Linked DNA regions of Homo sapiens: regions 1, 2, 4 and 5 are each linked to region 3. Evidence: promoter capture Hi-C in 16 types of primary human blood cells and fetal thymus (Javierre and others, 2016). All regions are on one chromosome and are shown on one strand. Each heading gives the region's core, a stretch centred on a gene start or on the middle of the fragment in contact. The rest is flanking DNA. Distances are from core to core; before and after follow the strand shown. Region 1 overlaps B3GALNT2 (beta-1,3-N-acetylgalactosaminyltransferase 2). Region 2 has its middle 8.4 kb from the start of LINC00184. Region 3 holds the start of TOMM20 (translocase of outer mitochondrial membrane 20). Region 4 overlaps B3GALNT2 (beta-1,3-N-acetylgalactosaminyltransferase 2). Region 5 overlaps TBCE (tubulin folding cofactor E).

Region 1 (2,700 bases), core at 81-2,580, 340 kb before region 3:
AGCTACTCTGTTGTTTGGATGAGAAATTAGAAGCTTTATGGAAAAGAGTTGATGCGTGAAAGGAGTTACAGACAGCTTGCTTATGTTATGGGAGAGATAGATATGATATCTCATTTTTCCAACCTGTATCATGCTATTTTTTCCCAACTTTTATTTTGGTTTTTATGATCTTAGTAAGGGAATTGCCATAAACAAGTTGTTTTGGATCTTAAGAGATACCTGGCTTCATAATTGCCTTACATCAGAATAAAAAGTAGGTGTATGAGAGCAGAGGTGAGGAATAGAAATTAAACTGTGTTGTGGAGCAGAAACAGGTTTAGGAGATAGGTGGAAGATAAAGCTTCTTCCTTGCTTAGTAACAAAACAGCTGATGGGTTATTTAAGTTCCATGAGTAAGTCAAGATGATTTGGGAGGACTAGGGAATTTTTCTGGTAACACATTCAATTATTCATTGAATTTGTTTGTTGTATCATAGCCTAGTCACAGACAAAATGGAGTTGGGTGCCAGGAAGGACCCACTGTGAAATAGCATGTCACATGTCATGTCAATTGAATGGACAGTACAGAGAATTACTCGTTTTATCATCATCTTTTCTAGATTTGTAGTTTCAAGGTGAGGATTTTTATCTGGTCACTATAGTTTTTACTTTTGGTATGATTCATTATTTCCTTTTTGCTTTCCTCTTAAATATTAATCATTAGGATTTGCTACCTAGCCTTCTGTTTTATTTTACTCATTCTTCCCAGGCAATTTCATTCATTACTGCCTGTATGCTGAAGGCTGTTAAATCTATAATTACAGCCCCAGCATCTCTTGTGAACTCCAGACATGCTTTGAGTTGCCTCCTGAACTTCTCCACTTGAATGTCCCATGGGCATTCTAATGGTAACATTGTCTCCATCCCATCTGTTCTCATCGCCTGTATTTTTAATCTTGGGTAACCATCTCCTTTTCCTCAAGTCACCTAAACCAGAATCATGAGAGTTATCGTCACTCTCATGTCCAGGTACTCACCAAGTCCTATCAGTTCCTTATCCTAAGTATATATGCTATCAATCCTTCCAAACTCTATCACTATTAAAGTTTTAGAAGAAAATACATTAGCTGAATACAGAGCGATAAACTGCCTGAGGAATCCGGACTCTTGGAATATTTTTATCTGTTTTGGAGGAGGAAAAAAATATTATTTATTTTAAAAAAGGAAAGAAAGGAAGGGAAAGGTTGGGCGGTGGCTCACGCCCGTAATCCTAGCACTTTGGGAGGCTGAGGCAGGCAGATCACTAGGTCAGGAGTTCAAGACCAGCCTGGCCAACATGGTGAAACCCCATCTCTACTGAAAATACAAAAATTAGCTAGGCATGGTGGCACATTCCTGTAATCCCAGCTACTTGGGAGGCTGAGGCAGGAGAATCACTTGAACCAGGACCTGGGAGGTGGGGTTTGCAGTGAGCAGAGATCACGCCACTGCACTCCAGCCTGGGCTACAGAGTGAGACTCCGTCTCAAAAAAATAAAAATAAAAAAAAAGAAAAAGTTTATATCACTCTGTGCAGAGGGAAAAAAATGTTTATAAACCACTGACCTAGCTTATCAAATTGAATTTTGTATGGTTTCCCTATACTGCTGGCTAAAATGAGACATTATTGTAAAGTACTTTATCCCTTCATTTTAACATGAAAGTTTTTAGAGTATTAGAGGTATATCTTTCATTTAATCCTCTATACTATAGTCAATTCTGGTTGATTTTTAGTTCAACATTATTTATTCAGCAAACATTTTGAGTTGTCAGTCATGTCAGGCCAGGCTCGATGCTGGGGATGCAGTGGTTGATCAGGCAAGCTCCTTCCTGTTCTCAAGGTGTTTGTCTTCTAGTAGAGGCAGTTAGTTTAATAATAAAATAAAATAAGAAATATCAGAGTGATAAATGGTATTAATAAGATAAAACAGGTTGATGTGATAGAAGTTGGGAGTTGGAGCCTTCTGGAGGACATCTGGAGAAAGCCTCTCGGAGGAGAAGGTAGTGGAGCTGAGACCTGAGCAGGACTAAGGAGCCAGCTGTGCACAGAATTAAAAATGGGATCATGGAGAAATTAGAAGACATTAAGATTTCAATATATATCAGACCTTGGGACAGGGGGGCATAGCTCTCTCAGCTCAGAATTTAATAGTAATAATCACAAAGGAAAAGTTTGTCAGATTTGCCAAGGTGAAATTTATGGACTTCTGAATTTCAAAAATAGCATTAAGTAGCAAATGAAAAACTATTTTAGCATATAAAATGTGCACAGGATTAAGATAATTACTTTATTAAAAGCTTGCATAGATGAACAAGAAAAATAGAAAACTCAGAGGGCAGATGGCAAAGCAGCATGATAAGGCAGTCCTCAGAAGAGAACATGCAATTCATAAACATCACTAGGAATCAGAAATCCAACTAAGCCAATCTTTTTTTTTTTTTTTTAAATTCAGGCAGGGCGCCGTGGCTCATGCCTGTAATCCCAGCACTTTGGGAGGCCAGGGTGGGCAGATCACTTGAGGTCAGGAGTTCCAGACCAGCCTGGCCAACATGGCGAAACCCTGTCTCTACTAAATATCCAAAAATTAACCGGGCGTGATAGTGAGCGCCTGTAATCCCAGCTACGCGGGAGGCTGAAGCAAGAGAATCGCTTAAACCTGGAGAGTGAAGGTTGCAGTGAGCC
Region 2 (2,816 bases), core at 263-2,762, 510 kb after region 3:
CCAATATAAAATCTCAAAGCTGTGCATTGTTCTGTACATGTCACCTCCAAATGGCTCCGTAGTCTGAAACTCAGAATGCCTGTCTTTCTCCTTGAGCTCAGTCTGTCACTGTGTAGCTCAAGAATTCTCTGAGTTAATGTGTGGTTGAGAATGGAATTTACCATAGTCATTTTCCCTCCCGACATATCTATTACAAAAAAAAAAAAAAAACTATCTACAGTGATTTACAAACTTTGTTTTCTTTCAGGACAACACAGCAAGCTACCATCTCATGTGCTCCAAGAAGAATTGACTCTTCCCCCTACTTCCCCCGTTTCAAGGAGGTGGGGAGGGGGGCAGAGGCACAGAATCCTGGCCTTGGTGATAGGATGTGGTGTGATGCTGTTCTTCTGTATGTACTGTCCCATGGGGTGCCTGAGGATACGGTGCTGGCTGTGGTCCAGGTAAATTGGAGACAATCCTAGAAGTAAAAACATCCATCATGCTTAGTAGGATCTTAGGTTGTAACGGCTGCCTTGAGCCTTCAGACATTTTTTTTATAAAGCTCCCGGTCATAAAGCACTCTTTCCGCCTCTGCTGCCATATGTTTTTCCAGCTGGACTTTCACCAGTCTTCCACTCTCCAGAAAGTTCTTACTCATTCAGCCCAAGGGTATCTCATCAGTTTTTCTGAGGACTGCTGGAAGTTTCAGCAGGCGTCCTGGCCACACGGAAAATCTAGCTAGCTAAGCTTGTGGATGAAGGTCTCCAGTTATGAGTCTGTGCCCTGAGATGCTGTTGCCTGCCTTATTCAAATTAAATTTAGAGAAATTTAAATAAACATATATAAATGCATGAAACTGTATAAGAAAAAAGTCCTTATTAGTATGCATTTTCTGGGACTCAGACATCCTCACCAAATCCAACAGCAAGGAAACTGAATAACTTTTTGTCTTTTAAGAATAGTTTTTGTCCGAAGATTGGAATCTACCCACTTTTTTAGCCTGATCAGCCAGTGACCTCTGAACCTTGCTTTTCATTGTTCATCTTCTATTCACCTGGGGCACTGAGGATGTTTTTGCTTTTCCAGATGCTGTTTTTACAATTGGTTGACACAATGGCTAGAGTCATGACTCTTGGGTATGCTTCGTAGTTATTTGCCTATGGGACAAGGTTCACTCTTCCAAACTTTTTTTTTTTTTTTTTTTTTTTTTTTAGAGACTGGGTCTCGCTTTGTTCCCCAGGCTGGAGTGCAGTGGCGTGATCATGGTTCATGGATCACTGTAGCATCAACCTCCTGGGCTCAAGCAATCCACCTGCCTCAGCCTGCTTAGTAGCTGGGACTACAGGTATGCACTACCACCACACCTGGCTAATTTTTAATTTTTTGGTAGAGACCCCAGCCTCCCAAAGTCCTGGGATTGCAGGTGTAAGCCACTCTACCTGGCCTTGATTTTTGTATTTTTTTTGTAGAGATGGGGGTCTTGCTATGTTGCCCAGGCCAGTCTCAAACTCCTGGCCTCCAGTGATCCTCCCGCCTCAGCCTCCCAGAGTGCTGGGATTATATTACTACTGCACCCAGCCACTCTTCCAAATTCTAACCAAGCAGTTTGTTCTTTGTGATCCAGGCTTAGTTGCTGCCCTGTTGGCCATTTTTCCTTTGGGTGAATTTAGGATTCAGTTCCTCATCCTCAAAAGCCCTAACTGAAAAGGAACTGATGACACATTCTCCATGGTAAACCCTTCTTGGGAAACTCTCACGAGGACTTGGGCACTGTGTATCCAGCTCCTATTTTAGTGATAGATTTATATTTGATTTACAATAGAAATTGAGCCCACATCCAGATTTTAATAGTGCCACCCATTCCTTACTGGTGAGACCATTCTCTTCCTACGGTCCACCCCACCAGCTGACTGCCTCTCCTCCCCACTACAGTTTCCCAGCTGTCTCCTGCCACCCTGCTTCCATTTGCTGTTGTGTATGCTCCAATTTTTTACCTTCACACGACGAAAACTTCAGGGGCAAAAATTATACCTATGATAATGTAAAGAGATCTTAGAACAACTGAGACTGGCAGTAAAAAATTCAAAATTTTGACATTCCTAGTTTGGGGAGACGAGTTAGATTCAGGGATAGCTATGAAATTGTGCTGTCTGAATTTGTAAAGTATTTTTCAAAGCAGATTAACAGGACACAGTATTATGAGGAAATCACACTGATTTTCACTTTCTTTCTCGCTTGTTGGTTTCCCTAAATGCTTAAATAAGAATATAATTACAATATTTCTAAACGATTGTGCAACTGCTCTGAAGCTTGACTATTTACCTCCCACCACTCAGAAGAATACAAGCGGTATATATCTGTTAGGTTACCCATTAAACGACTGTGACAGATCGTATTTCTGGTTAATTGTTAGTTCCTTATGACCTTAGACTTTGCCTGTGTATTTAATAACACCATCTGCTGTCTAGGGTAGCAATACCACCTTTTTACATGAGGATTACTGTTCTTACTTCGTAAACAAAAGTGCTCAATCTGAGGTGTTGAAACTGTACCACAGAATTATTTAAATTATACTACCTATGGAAAGCTTAAAGAAGAAAAAATTAACTTTCTTCTCTATGGTGGCTTTATTAGCTTCAAGTAAAATATCAGAATTTATACACCATAAGAAAAGTATTTTTAAAAGATTTACAAGTTTTATTATTGGTCTGCAAAATGAAATGTTTTAAAAGAACGTTGTCTCTGTTATACTTGTTTTGTTTATCTTCTTCTAGCCGAGTTTCTCATTGTATATGATCTCTGAGCAATTTCTCAATAAAACAGACAATTTTAAA
Region 3 (2,700 bases), core at 109-2,608:
TTTAATTTTTTTGTGGAGACAGGGTCTCACCATGTTGCCCAGGCTGGTGTTGAACTCTTGGGCTCAAGCTATCCGCCCATCTGGGCCTCCCAAAGTGCTGGGATTACAGGTGTGAGACACTGCCTGGTCTTTGTCAAAGGACTGTTAATCCTGTGTAACTACTGTCTTCTGCAAGGATCAATATTATCTTTAAAGGGAAAATTAAACTAAGAATGCTTTTGTTCTTAAGATATCAGGACATCAGGACATTTCCTGGGTCTGTTAGGTAAACATTATTAACTTGTTCCCTTCCCTGTAAATATCCTGTGACCAAGAATGCCAAACTTCCTGGGAATGTGCCCCAATAGGTCTCAGCCTCATTTTACCCAGCCCCTATTCAAGGTAAGGTAGCTCTGGTTCCAATGTCTCTTGACACTGATGCTTGACTTCGATACCCCTCAACTTACAGTGTCTGTTTAATGCCTGCTTTCTGCCCACGATTTTCCTTGTCAATATCTTAAGTTAGATCATATATATATATATTTTGTTTTTTTGAGACGGACTCCTGATCTGTCACTCAGGCTGGAGTGCAGTGGCTCGATCTTGGCTCACTGCAACCTCTGCCTCCTGGTTCAAGCGATTCTCCCGCCTCAGCCTCCAGAGTAGCTGGGATTACAGGCCCCGGCCACCATGGCCAGCTAATTTTTGTATTTTTAGTAGAGACAGGGTTTCACTATGTTGGCCAGGCTGGTCTCAAACTCCTGGCCTTAAGTGATCCGCCTGCCTCGGCCTCCCAAAGTGTTGAGATTACAGGCGTGAGCCACCGCGCCTGGCCTGATCATGTGTATGTTTTCGTGTGGCTATAAAACAATTCACGTTTTCTATTTTTTCTTCAATTGTGTATATTTTTCAAGAAATTACTCCATTTAATTTTATTCCAGTTATCATAAAATGAGGCTATCCTGTAACATTCTTTTGAAATGGAACCACTACGCACAATGGATTGTGGCAACCTGAAAAGAAAGTACAGTTTAATTCAAACAAGTCACAGGCTGCCTGTGTTAGACAAGATGAAGCATTCGCAGTCTGGGACCCTGCATCTCTGTCTGCCACAAACAAGGCTGTCAGCTAGTCTTCTGAGTACGTGCACGCCAGTAACGCGTACGCCTCGTTACAGCATGGTCGGCGGATATGAAAAAAAGTCCGTGGTCACGTGCAAATTCCCGACTCCAGTGCGTACACCCAGCGGCGCAGGGGAAACGCCGGCTTCGCCCACTGCGCAGGCGCAGGAGCCGCGCTCTGGGCCTCTGCTCAGGCTCTGCCGCGGACGACCTCGAGGCCCTTAGTTGACTGGGACCGGAAGTGGCGTGTGCTCGGCCTTTCTGTGTTCCTGGCCCGCGGCCGTCGGGTGTGAGCTGCGCCGACCGCTCTGAGGGTTCGTGGCCCACCGCTCCTTCGCGGTCCCTGCCGCCACCGTCCACGCTCAGCGTTGTAGAGAAGATGGTGGGTCGGAACAGCGCCATCGCCGCCGGTGTATGCGGGGCCCTTTTCATTGGGTACTGCATCTACTTCGACCGCAAAAGACGAAGTGACCCCAACTTCAAGAACAGGCTTCGAGAACGTGAGTGGGTCCTCTCTCCCCTGGCCAGGCTTGCTGCCTTCGGCCGCCGCCCTTCACAGGAGGGGTCATTGCCTCCCACCAGCCTGTGGGCCGCGCAGGGCGACCGCGTGGTGCGGCCCTCAATAGGCGATGGCGCTGGCTGCGCCGCTCCGGGGGCTCTAGTGCCCCGTAGGAATTCCATTTTGGAGGAAGGATTTTTCCCGTTTTGTTTTCCCCAGACACTTTAGCCGTGCAAATGCACTCTTGATTTCTGTTGCAATCTCGGGTGTGTGTGGCCTGGGGAGGAGGTTGTCTCTTTTTTTGTCGTTCATCTTTTTAAACCTCTACTCTTAACTAAAAAGTCGTGCATTTTTGTCGCAAATTTTAGTCTGAGGCTAAATCCGCATGCTCAGTGCAGTATCATTGTTGCATTCTTTTTTTTGAGACGGAATCTCGCTCTGTCGCCCAGGCTGTAGTGCAGTGGCGCGATCTCGGCTCACTGCAACCTCCGCCTCCCGAGTTCAAGCGCTTCTCCTGCCTCAGTCTCCCCAGTAGCTGGGATTACAGTCGGGCGTCACCACGCCCGGTGATTTTTTGTGTTTAGTAGAGACGGGGTTTCACCGTGTTGGTCAGGCTAGTCTCGAACTCCTGACCTCAGATGATCCGCCTGGCTCATTGCTGCATTCTTAAACCCTCTTGGTAGCTTCGTTCTAAGTGCTTCCAAGATATGAGTGAATGCTATAGAAATTGCAGGGGAGTCCAAAGGGCTGCGCTTCTCCCGTGGCTCAGTCTTATTTCATACCTGCGACATCTTTTAAGAGAGGTCTACCAGAGGGGAATCGTGTCATGAAAACCGTTGTGATCCACCTTGAATTTTCGGAGAATCTTCATTCGCATCATTGAAGAGCAAATTTGTTGCAATAAGAAATATTTTTTGGCTTATCTTGGTTGTTCAGCCAAATTAGTTTTTGGAATTAAAATTGATACGTAAGTTACTAAAGCCCAAGGGGTACAAAGAAGGGATTATTGTTTACTTAAGTAACAGTGGTTACGGTTTAATTCAGCTATACTAAGTCATTTCAAGTGTTCAGTAGCCCTGTGTGAGCAGTGACTGCAGCGCT
Region 4 (2,700 bases), core at 44-2,543, 360 kb before region 3:
TAACCTATACAATACTGTTTATCGTAAATTCCATGAAACCAGTTGATTCTCATAGAACGCTTTTGTTGTTTGTCAGACTCTCCTATCTATGACCAACTTATGGTTGCAGTTAACAAAAGAGTGTAGTTGTGACAAAAGTCTTTCTTTTAAGTTAAACAGTGAGGTGAGGACTAAAGTGACAACTAAGATATGTCAGCTTTACACTTAATAAAGTCAGTGACTTCTATGCTGTATCAGGTAATAGTTTTGGAACACTGGAATCGTATCTTCCTTGACTTTTTTTTTTTTTTTTAACTATTCACTCTGTAGTGGCTATAGATAGACACATCACATTAAGCTTAATTTGCATTATCAACATTTTCTCTATACTTTCTTAAGTCTAGACAGTCAACAAAACAATAAACCAAACCCTTATTTGTATTATTTGCCAGTTTCTAGGGTGTGAATATTTCCACTATGGCCAATTCAAGTGACTAATGTGACATCACTGAACACAGAGTGGGGGAAAGATAAGCAGTAGCATGCCATATATACTATTTCCACCATGTAGATGTAATAAATATAAATGATCTCAAGAACATAATAGTAAAATGTAGTAAAACATTAAGTGATTAATTTGAGTATTTCCTTTGATTTTAATATATATTATAAGATTATATAATTTAATTTTAAATAAAGGCTATGTTTAATAACCGTCTCACAAAATTTCTGAAAAGTTGACAGTTGGCTCCCAGAAGCCAGTAGTAGCAGGCTTTAGCACACAGCTGTCTGTGGGTTATCTGGGTGAAGATGTCCAGTGAATTTACAGGTCCTTTACATGGGTCTAAACTAGAGTTACTAATTCAGGTCCGGACACAGTGGCTCACACCTGTAATCCCAGCACTTTGGGAGGCCAAGGCAGGCAGATCACTTGACGCCAAGAGTTCGAGACCAGCCTGGCCAACATGGTGAAATCCCGTCTCTACTAAAAATACAAAAATTAGCCAGGCGTGGTGGCACACGCCTGTAATCCCAGCCACTTAGGAGGCTGAGGCAGGAGAATCACTTGAACCTGAAAGGTGGAGACTGCAAAGAGCCAAGATTACACTGTTGTATTCCAGCCTGGGTGACAGAGCGAGACTCTGTCTCAAAAAAAAAGAAAACAACTAGAGTTACTAATTCAGGAATCATTCCCATGCTATTTGAAGCCATGAGAATAAATAATATTGTTTAGGGAGAGGAAGTAAAAAAAATGAGTAGATTGAGAAAAGACCCAAAGGCAGAGCCCTAGACTAATACCACTCTCAGTGGACAAGCTGGGGAACAAGAGGCAGTGAAGATGACTGAGCAGGCCACAGAAGGAAGGGAAGAGAGCATTTTAGGGAGCTGGGCAGTATTAAGCCGTAGAGAAACCAGGAAGGTAAGAGTTCAAGAGTGTCTATTGATTTAGCAGCAGCTCATTGGTTACATTAGTGGAATCTCAGTGGAGGTGGTGATATTAAAGCTAAAACTCTTGTTTTATAAAATGAGTGGGAAGTAAGAAACAGGCTGCAGTTTTAATTTCTTTGTAGGACCTCAGTGTAAAGTGTGGTGGCAAGGAAGGATGGAAGGTGAAGAGAATAATTAGAGTCAGGACTTTATCATGTTTGTAATGTGGAGGGAAGGAGTCACTAGTTACAGGGGTAACCAGTGAAGCAAGGTCTAGGAGAGAAGGGGATTTCCTCTTGGATGGAAAGACCTAATCTTGAGCAAAAGGAACACTTTCTGAAATAGAAGAAGGCAGCAAAGGAAAATTTTAGATATAGATATGTTTTTAGGTATGGGCATGAGAACTGACTTTACTATAGTTTGCTTTTAAATGATATGAACATTTGCTTGTAGCGAGGCCAGACATATTCATACTTGCTTTAATATAGCATTGCAATAAGGACTCATGCATAAGTAACTTGGTAGTTAGCAACTTTCAGTTTACTTGTTCCCCCATTTTGTCTGACTAGAAGAATAAAGGTAGAGAATTAATCCTCATAAACACTTGTGTCTCAAAGTAAAAGCTCTGAAATGGGCATGAGGAAACGTGCATGTGCGAGGTGAAGATCAGTAACTGATGTTAATGCCAACACATCTCTCAGTGTGCTTGTGAAGTTCATAATAGGTGCTCATGGCTGTGAAGTGCCTGTGGAAGACAGGGAGGATCCTTATTCCTGTAAACTACTCAACATCACAAATCCAGGTAAGTCATCTTTTCCCTTGACTGCCATACACAAGCTTGATGTTGAGTAAAAGTTGCTAAGCTTAATAGTATGGAGTCTGTTTTTATTTTTTATTATTTTATTTTATTATGTGTTTTAGAGACAGGGTCTTGCTCTGTCGCCTAGGCTGGCGTGCAGTGGCATAGTCATGGCTCACTATAACCTCAAACTCCGGGGCTCAAGCGATCCTCCTACCTCACCACCCTGCTAGGACTACAGGCACATGCCACGAAAACTGGCTAATTTTTTAAATTTTTTGTAGAGTTGAGGTCTCGCTGTCTTGTCTGGGCTGATCTTGAATTCTTACCCTCAAGGGATCCACCAGCCTCAGCATCCCAAAGCACTGGGATTGCAGGCATGAGCCACCATGCCCTGGAGTCTGTTTTTAATAGACTAAAATGTCTTTCATCCAAATTTATGTCTCATCTTTTTTTTTTTTTTTTTTTTTTTTTTTTTGGAGATGGAGTCTTGC
Region 5 (2,804 bases), core at 46-2,545, 280 kb before region 3:
ACTTGACTTATAGAGCCAATAAAAGCCGCTTGGGAAAACTGGCCTCACTCCTTGTCTACACAGTTCCTGACCTGTGTCCCACAGACCTATGGAAGACAAGAGAATGATCCCACTTATTCCTGTGAACCAACCAGTGATCTCTGGCTGCTGCTCAGAAGAAACAAGAGTGATGGGTAATGTTATTCTAATTCTGGGCACATATTGGAATTGGCTAGTGACTCCTTATTAGCTTGATTTAAACAATTGCCCAGTTCATGGAAAACTTTCTAATTCAGTTTACTTGGGATAATTTTATTTTTTTTATTTTACTGTTGTGGAATATATTGCTGTGATTATACTCTTTGTGTAGGAATGCAGGATAAGCTTACTAAATGTTTTCTTAAACTGAACACTTATTAATCTTCCAGATATACCTTTTGTCGGAACTCAAGAGTTATGAATGGCCTTCGCCATACCAACGCTTTCGAACTGAGCTCCTCTACCCTGAATGCAAGAGACCCAACAGTTAGGCAGGAATATCATCACCCCTGTTCAGCATAAAGAAGTTACAGAAAGTGGATCTTCATCCCTCTGCAGCCCTTAGGATTAAGGGTTCTCTCGTAAAAGGGAGGGGGGAAATATGTCAGAGACGTTTGAACCAGAGCAACTCCATCTTGAATAGGAGCTGGGTAAAATAAGGCTGAGACCTACCAGGCTGCATTCCAGACTGTTAGGCATTCTAAGTCTCAGGATGAACTAGGAGGTCGGTACAAGATACAGGTCATTAAAGACCTTGCTGATGAAACAGCATGCAGTAAAGAAGCTGGCTAAAACCCACCAAAACCAAGATGGAGATGAGAGTGACCTCTGGTCATCCTCACTGCTACACTCCCACCAGCACCATGACAGTTTACAAATGCCATGGCAACGTCAGGAAATTACCCTACATGGTCTTAAAAGGGGAGGCATGAATAATCCACCCCTTGTTTAGCATATACTCAAGAAATAACCATAAAAATGGGCACCCAGCAGTCCTCGGGACTGTTCTGCCTATGGAGTAGCCATTCGTTATTCCTTTATTATAATTTTTTTTGGAGATAGAGTCTCCCTCTGTTGCCCAGGCTGGAGTGCAGTGGGGTGATCTTGGCTCACTGCAACCTCAGCCTCCCTGGTTGAAGCAATTCTCCTGCCTCAGCCTCCCGGGTTGAAGCAATTCTCCTGCCTCAGCCTCCTGAGTAGCTGGGATTACAGGCGTGCAACACCACGCCCGGCTAATTTTTGTTTCTGTTTTTTTTGTTTTTGTTTTTGTTTGAGACAGAGTCTCACTCTGTCACGCAGGCTGGAGTGCAGTGGCACGATCTCGGTTCACTGCAATCTCCAACTCCCGGGTTCACGCCATTCTCCTGCCTCAGCCTCCCAAGTAGCTGGAACTACAAGCACCCGCCACCACGCCTGGCTAATTTTTTGTATTTTTAGTAGAGACGGGGTTTCACTGTGTTAGATAGGATGGTCTCGAACTCCTGACCTCAAGTGATCCGCCCACCTCGGCTTCCCAAAGTGCTGGGATTACAGGCATGAGCCACGGCGCCAGGCCCTAAATCTACACTTTTTAAAACAGTGGTAATAAACAAGTTTTAAAACCATGGTAAAAAAACAAGAAGTCATGAACAGATCTTTATTACTGTTGAGTTTAGTTGCAGGCAGATGAAAGGAGAGTTAGGAATGTTGTTAGGTAGTTGCAAAACGGATGCTATGCCCTTTACAGATCAAAGACTAACACTAAAGATCAATATTTTCTGGAACATTTCCAGCAGGTTTCTCAGAAAACAAAACAGCCTCAACAAATAGTGAAAAACCCTAGCTGAATGGGTGCCCATCAATAACAACAAATCTCCAAGAGGTAAACTGTAATAATTTACATAGACTCCACTGAGATTCTACATTAATATATTAAGAAACTGTATCCAAACACTGAAATTCCAAACCATGTCTAAAGAGAAAAATGTTGGTGAGGAGGAGAATACAGGGAGGGGTGTCCAAAAACGTTTCTCTTGGAAGCATTTGGCCTGTTCAGGTTCCTTCCTCCTTCTGCCTACCAATTACACATGCTGCTGGTAAAATCATCATCCTGACCCATGGCCCTTGTGGAAACAGCATGTGCTCATAAAACCCAGTTATCAAGATTCATTCTGTCCTATGTCCCCATCAGGACTGCCACATAGAATCGAAGATGCTCAGTTAAGCTTGTATTTCAGATAAACAGCAAATCATTTTTAAGTAAGTATGCCCCCATGCATGTCTCATACTTATACTAAAAAAAAAAAAAAAAAAGATTGGCTGTTTATCTGAAATCCAAAGTTCACTATGCATTTGGTATTTTTGTTTGCTGAATCTGGCAACACTACACAAAGGTAAAGGGTCCCCAACAGACTCCCAGACTTCCACAGTAAGCTTCTTTCTTGTTGGAGCTTTGGATACAAGCTACTGGAAAAGGCCAGGTCTCTGGGGAGTTTCTAATAAATACTGTTGATCTTGATACCCTGTTTGTTTCAGGAATGTTTAGTGTTCAGCAAGGTTGCATAACTAGCTGTTCATCAGGAGAGGAGAACTCAGCTTTCGTGCAGTGTTCAGCGCTGTAACATCTAAAGAGCTGACCCAGAGAGGTTGTTTTCCTGTGAGTAAAGCAGTACAGTAGATAAGCACCTTGCTGTAGACTGCTCTTTTTGTTTGCTTCTCTAATCAGCTGAATTTAATATTCATCTCAACTGCTTTTGCGTTGACACAATTATGATTTTGCTCTGATTCAAGAAAACCTTCCAAAAATG

The links. The method cuts DNA at HindIII sites, captures the fragments that hold promoters and counts their contacts. A CHiCAGO score of 5 or more calls a contact.
Region 1: a contact is called between a fragment that was not itself captured here and the fragment with the promoter of TOMM20 in region 3, in 1 of 17 cell types (endothelial precursors). The highest score is 5.1, in endothelial precursors.
Region 2: a fragment that was not itself captured here is called in contact with the fragment with the promoter of TOMM20 in region 3 in 1 of 17 cell types (naive B cells); the score reaches 5.1 in naive B cells.
Region 4: a contact is called between a fragment that was not itself captured here and the fragment with the promoter of TOMM20 in region 3, in 1 of 17 cell types (endothelial precursors). The highest score is 6.4, in endothelial precursors.
Region 5: a contact is called between a fragment that was not itself captured here and the fragment with the promoter of TOMM20 in region 3, in 5 of 17 cell types (erythroblasts, activated CD4 T cells, naive CD8 T cells and 2 more). The highest score is 6.9, in erythroblasts.

Annotation. Positions count from the first base shown.
Region 1 is chr1:235,471,732-235,474,431 of GRCh38, reverse strand. The region is part of intron 5 of B3GALNT2 (beta-1,3-N-acetylgalactosaminyltransferase 2); the gene reads left to right. Among named protein-coding and RNA genes, the nearest start is that of B3GALNT2, 31 kb to the left of the region's middle. The HindIII fragment of the contact is 1,975 bases long and covers 343-2,317 here.
Region 2 is chr1:234,619,533-234,622,348 of GRCh38, reverse strand. No RefSeq gene overlaps it. Among named protein-coding and RNA genes, the nearest start is that of LINC00184, 8.4 kb to the left of the region's middle. The HindIII fragment of the contact is 1,562 bases long and covers 732-2,293 here.
Region 3 is chr1:235,127,495-235,130,194 of GRCh38, reverse strand. TOMM20 (translocase of outer mitochondrial membrane 20) reads left to right here and starts at 1,358. Exons shown (of 5, transcript NM_014765.3): 1 at 1,358-1,600. The coding sequence starts at 1,480. SNORA14B (small nucleolar RNA, H/ACA box 14B) reads left to right here and starts at 2,258; the gene lies at 2,258-2,392. It overlaps LOC105379283 (a long non-coding RNA gene), which reads left to right and starts at 1,994. Exons shown (of 2, transcript XR_949295.4): 1 at 1,994-2,566. RefSeq lists enhancers at 1,081-1,180, 1,411-1,630. The HindIII fragment of the contact is 4,902 bases long and covers 1-2,700 here.
Region 4 is chr1:235,488,677-235,491,376 of GRCh38, reverse strand. It overlaps B3GALNT2 (beta-1,3-N-acetylgalactosaminyltransferase 2), which reads left to right. Exons shown (of 12, transcript NM_152490.5): 3 at 2,109-2,209. Among named protein-coding and RNA genes, the nearest start is that of B3GALNT2, 14 kb to the left of the region's middle. RefSeq lists a silencer at 1-9. The HindIII fragment of the contact is 1,907 bases long and covers 340-2,246 here.
Region 5 is chr1:235,408,516-235,411,319 of GRCh38, reverse strand. All of the region lies in intron 3 of TBCE (tubulin folding cofactor E), which reads right to left. Among named protein-coding and RNA genes, the nearest start is that of TBCE, 42 kb to the right of the region's middle. The HindIII fragment of the contact is 1,859 bases long and covers 366-2,224 here.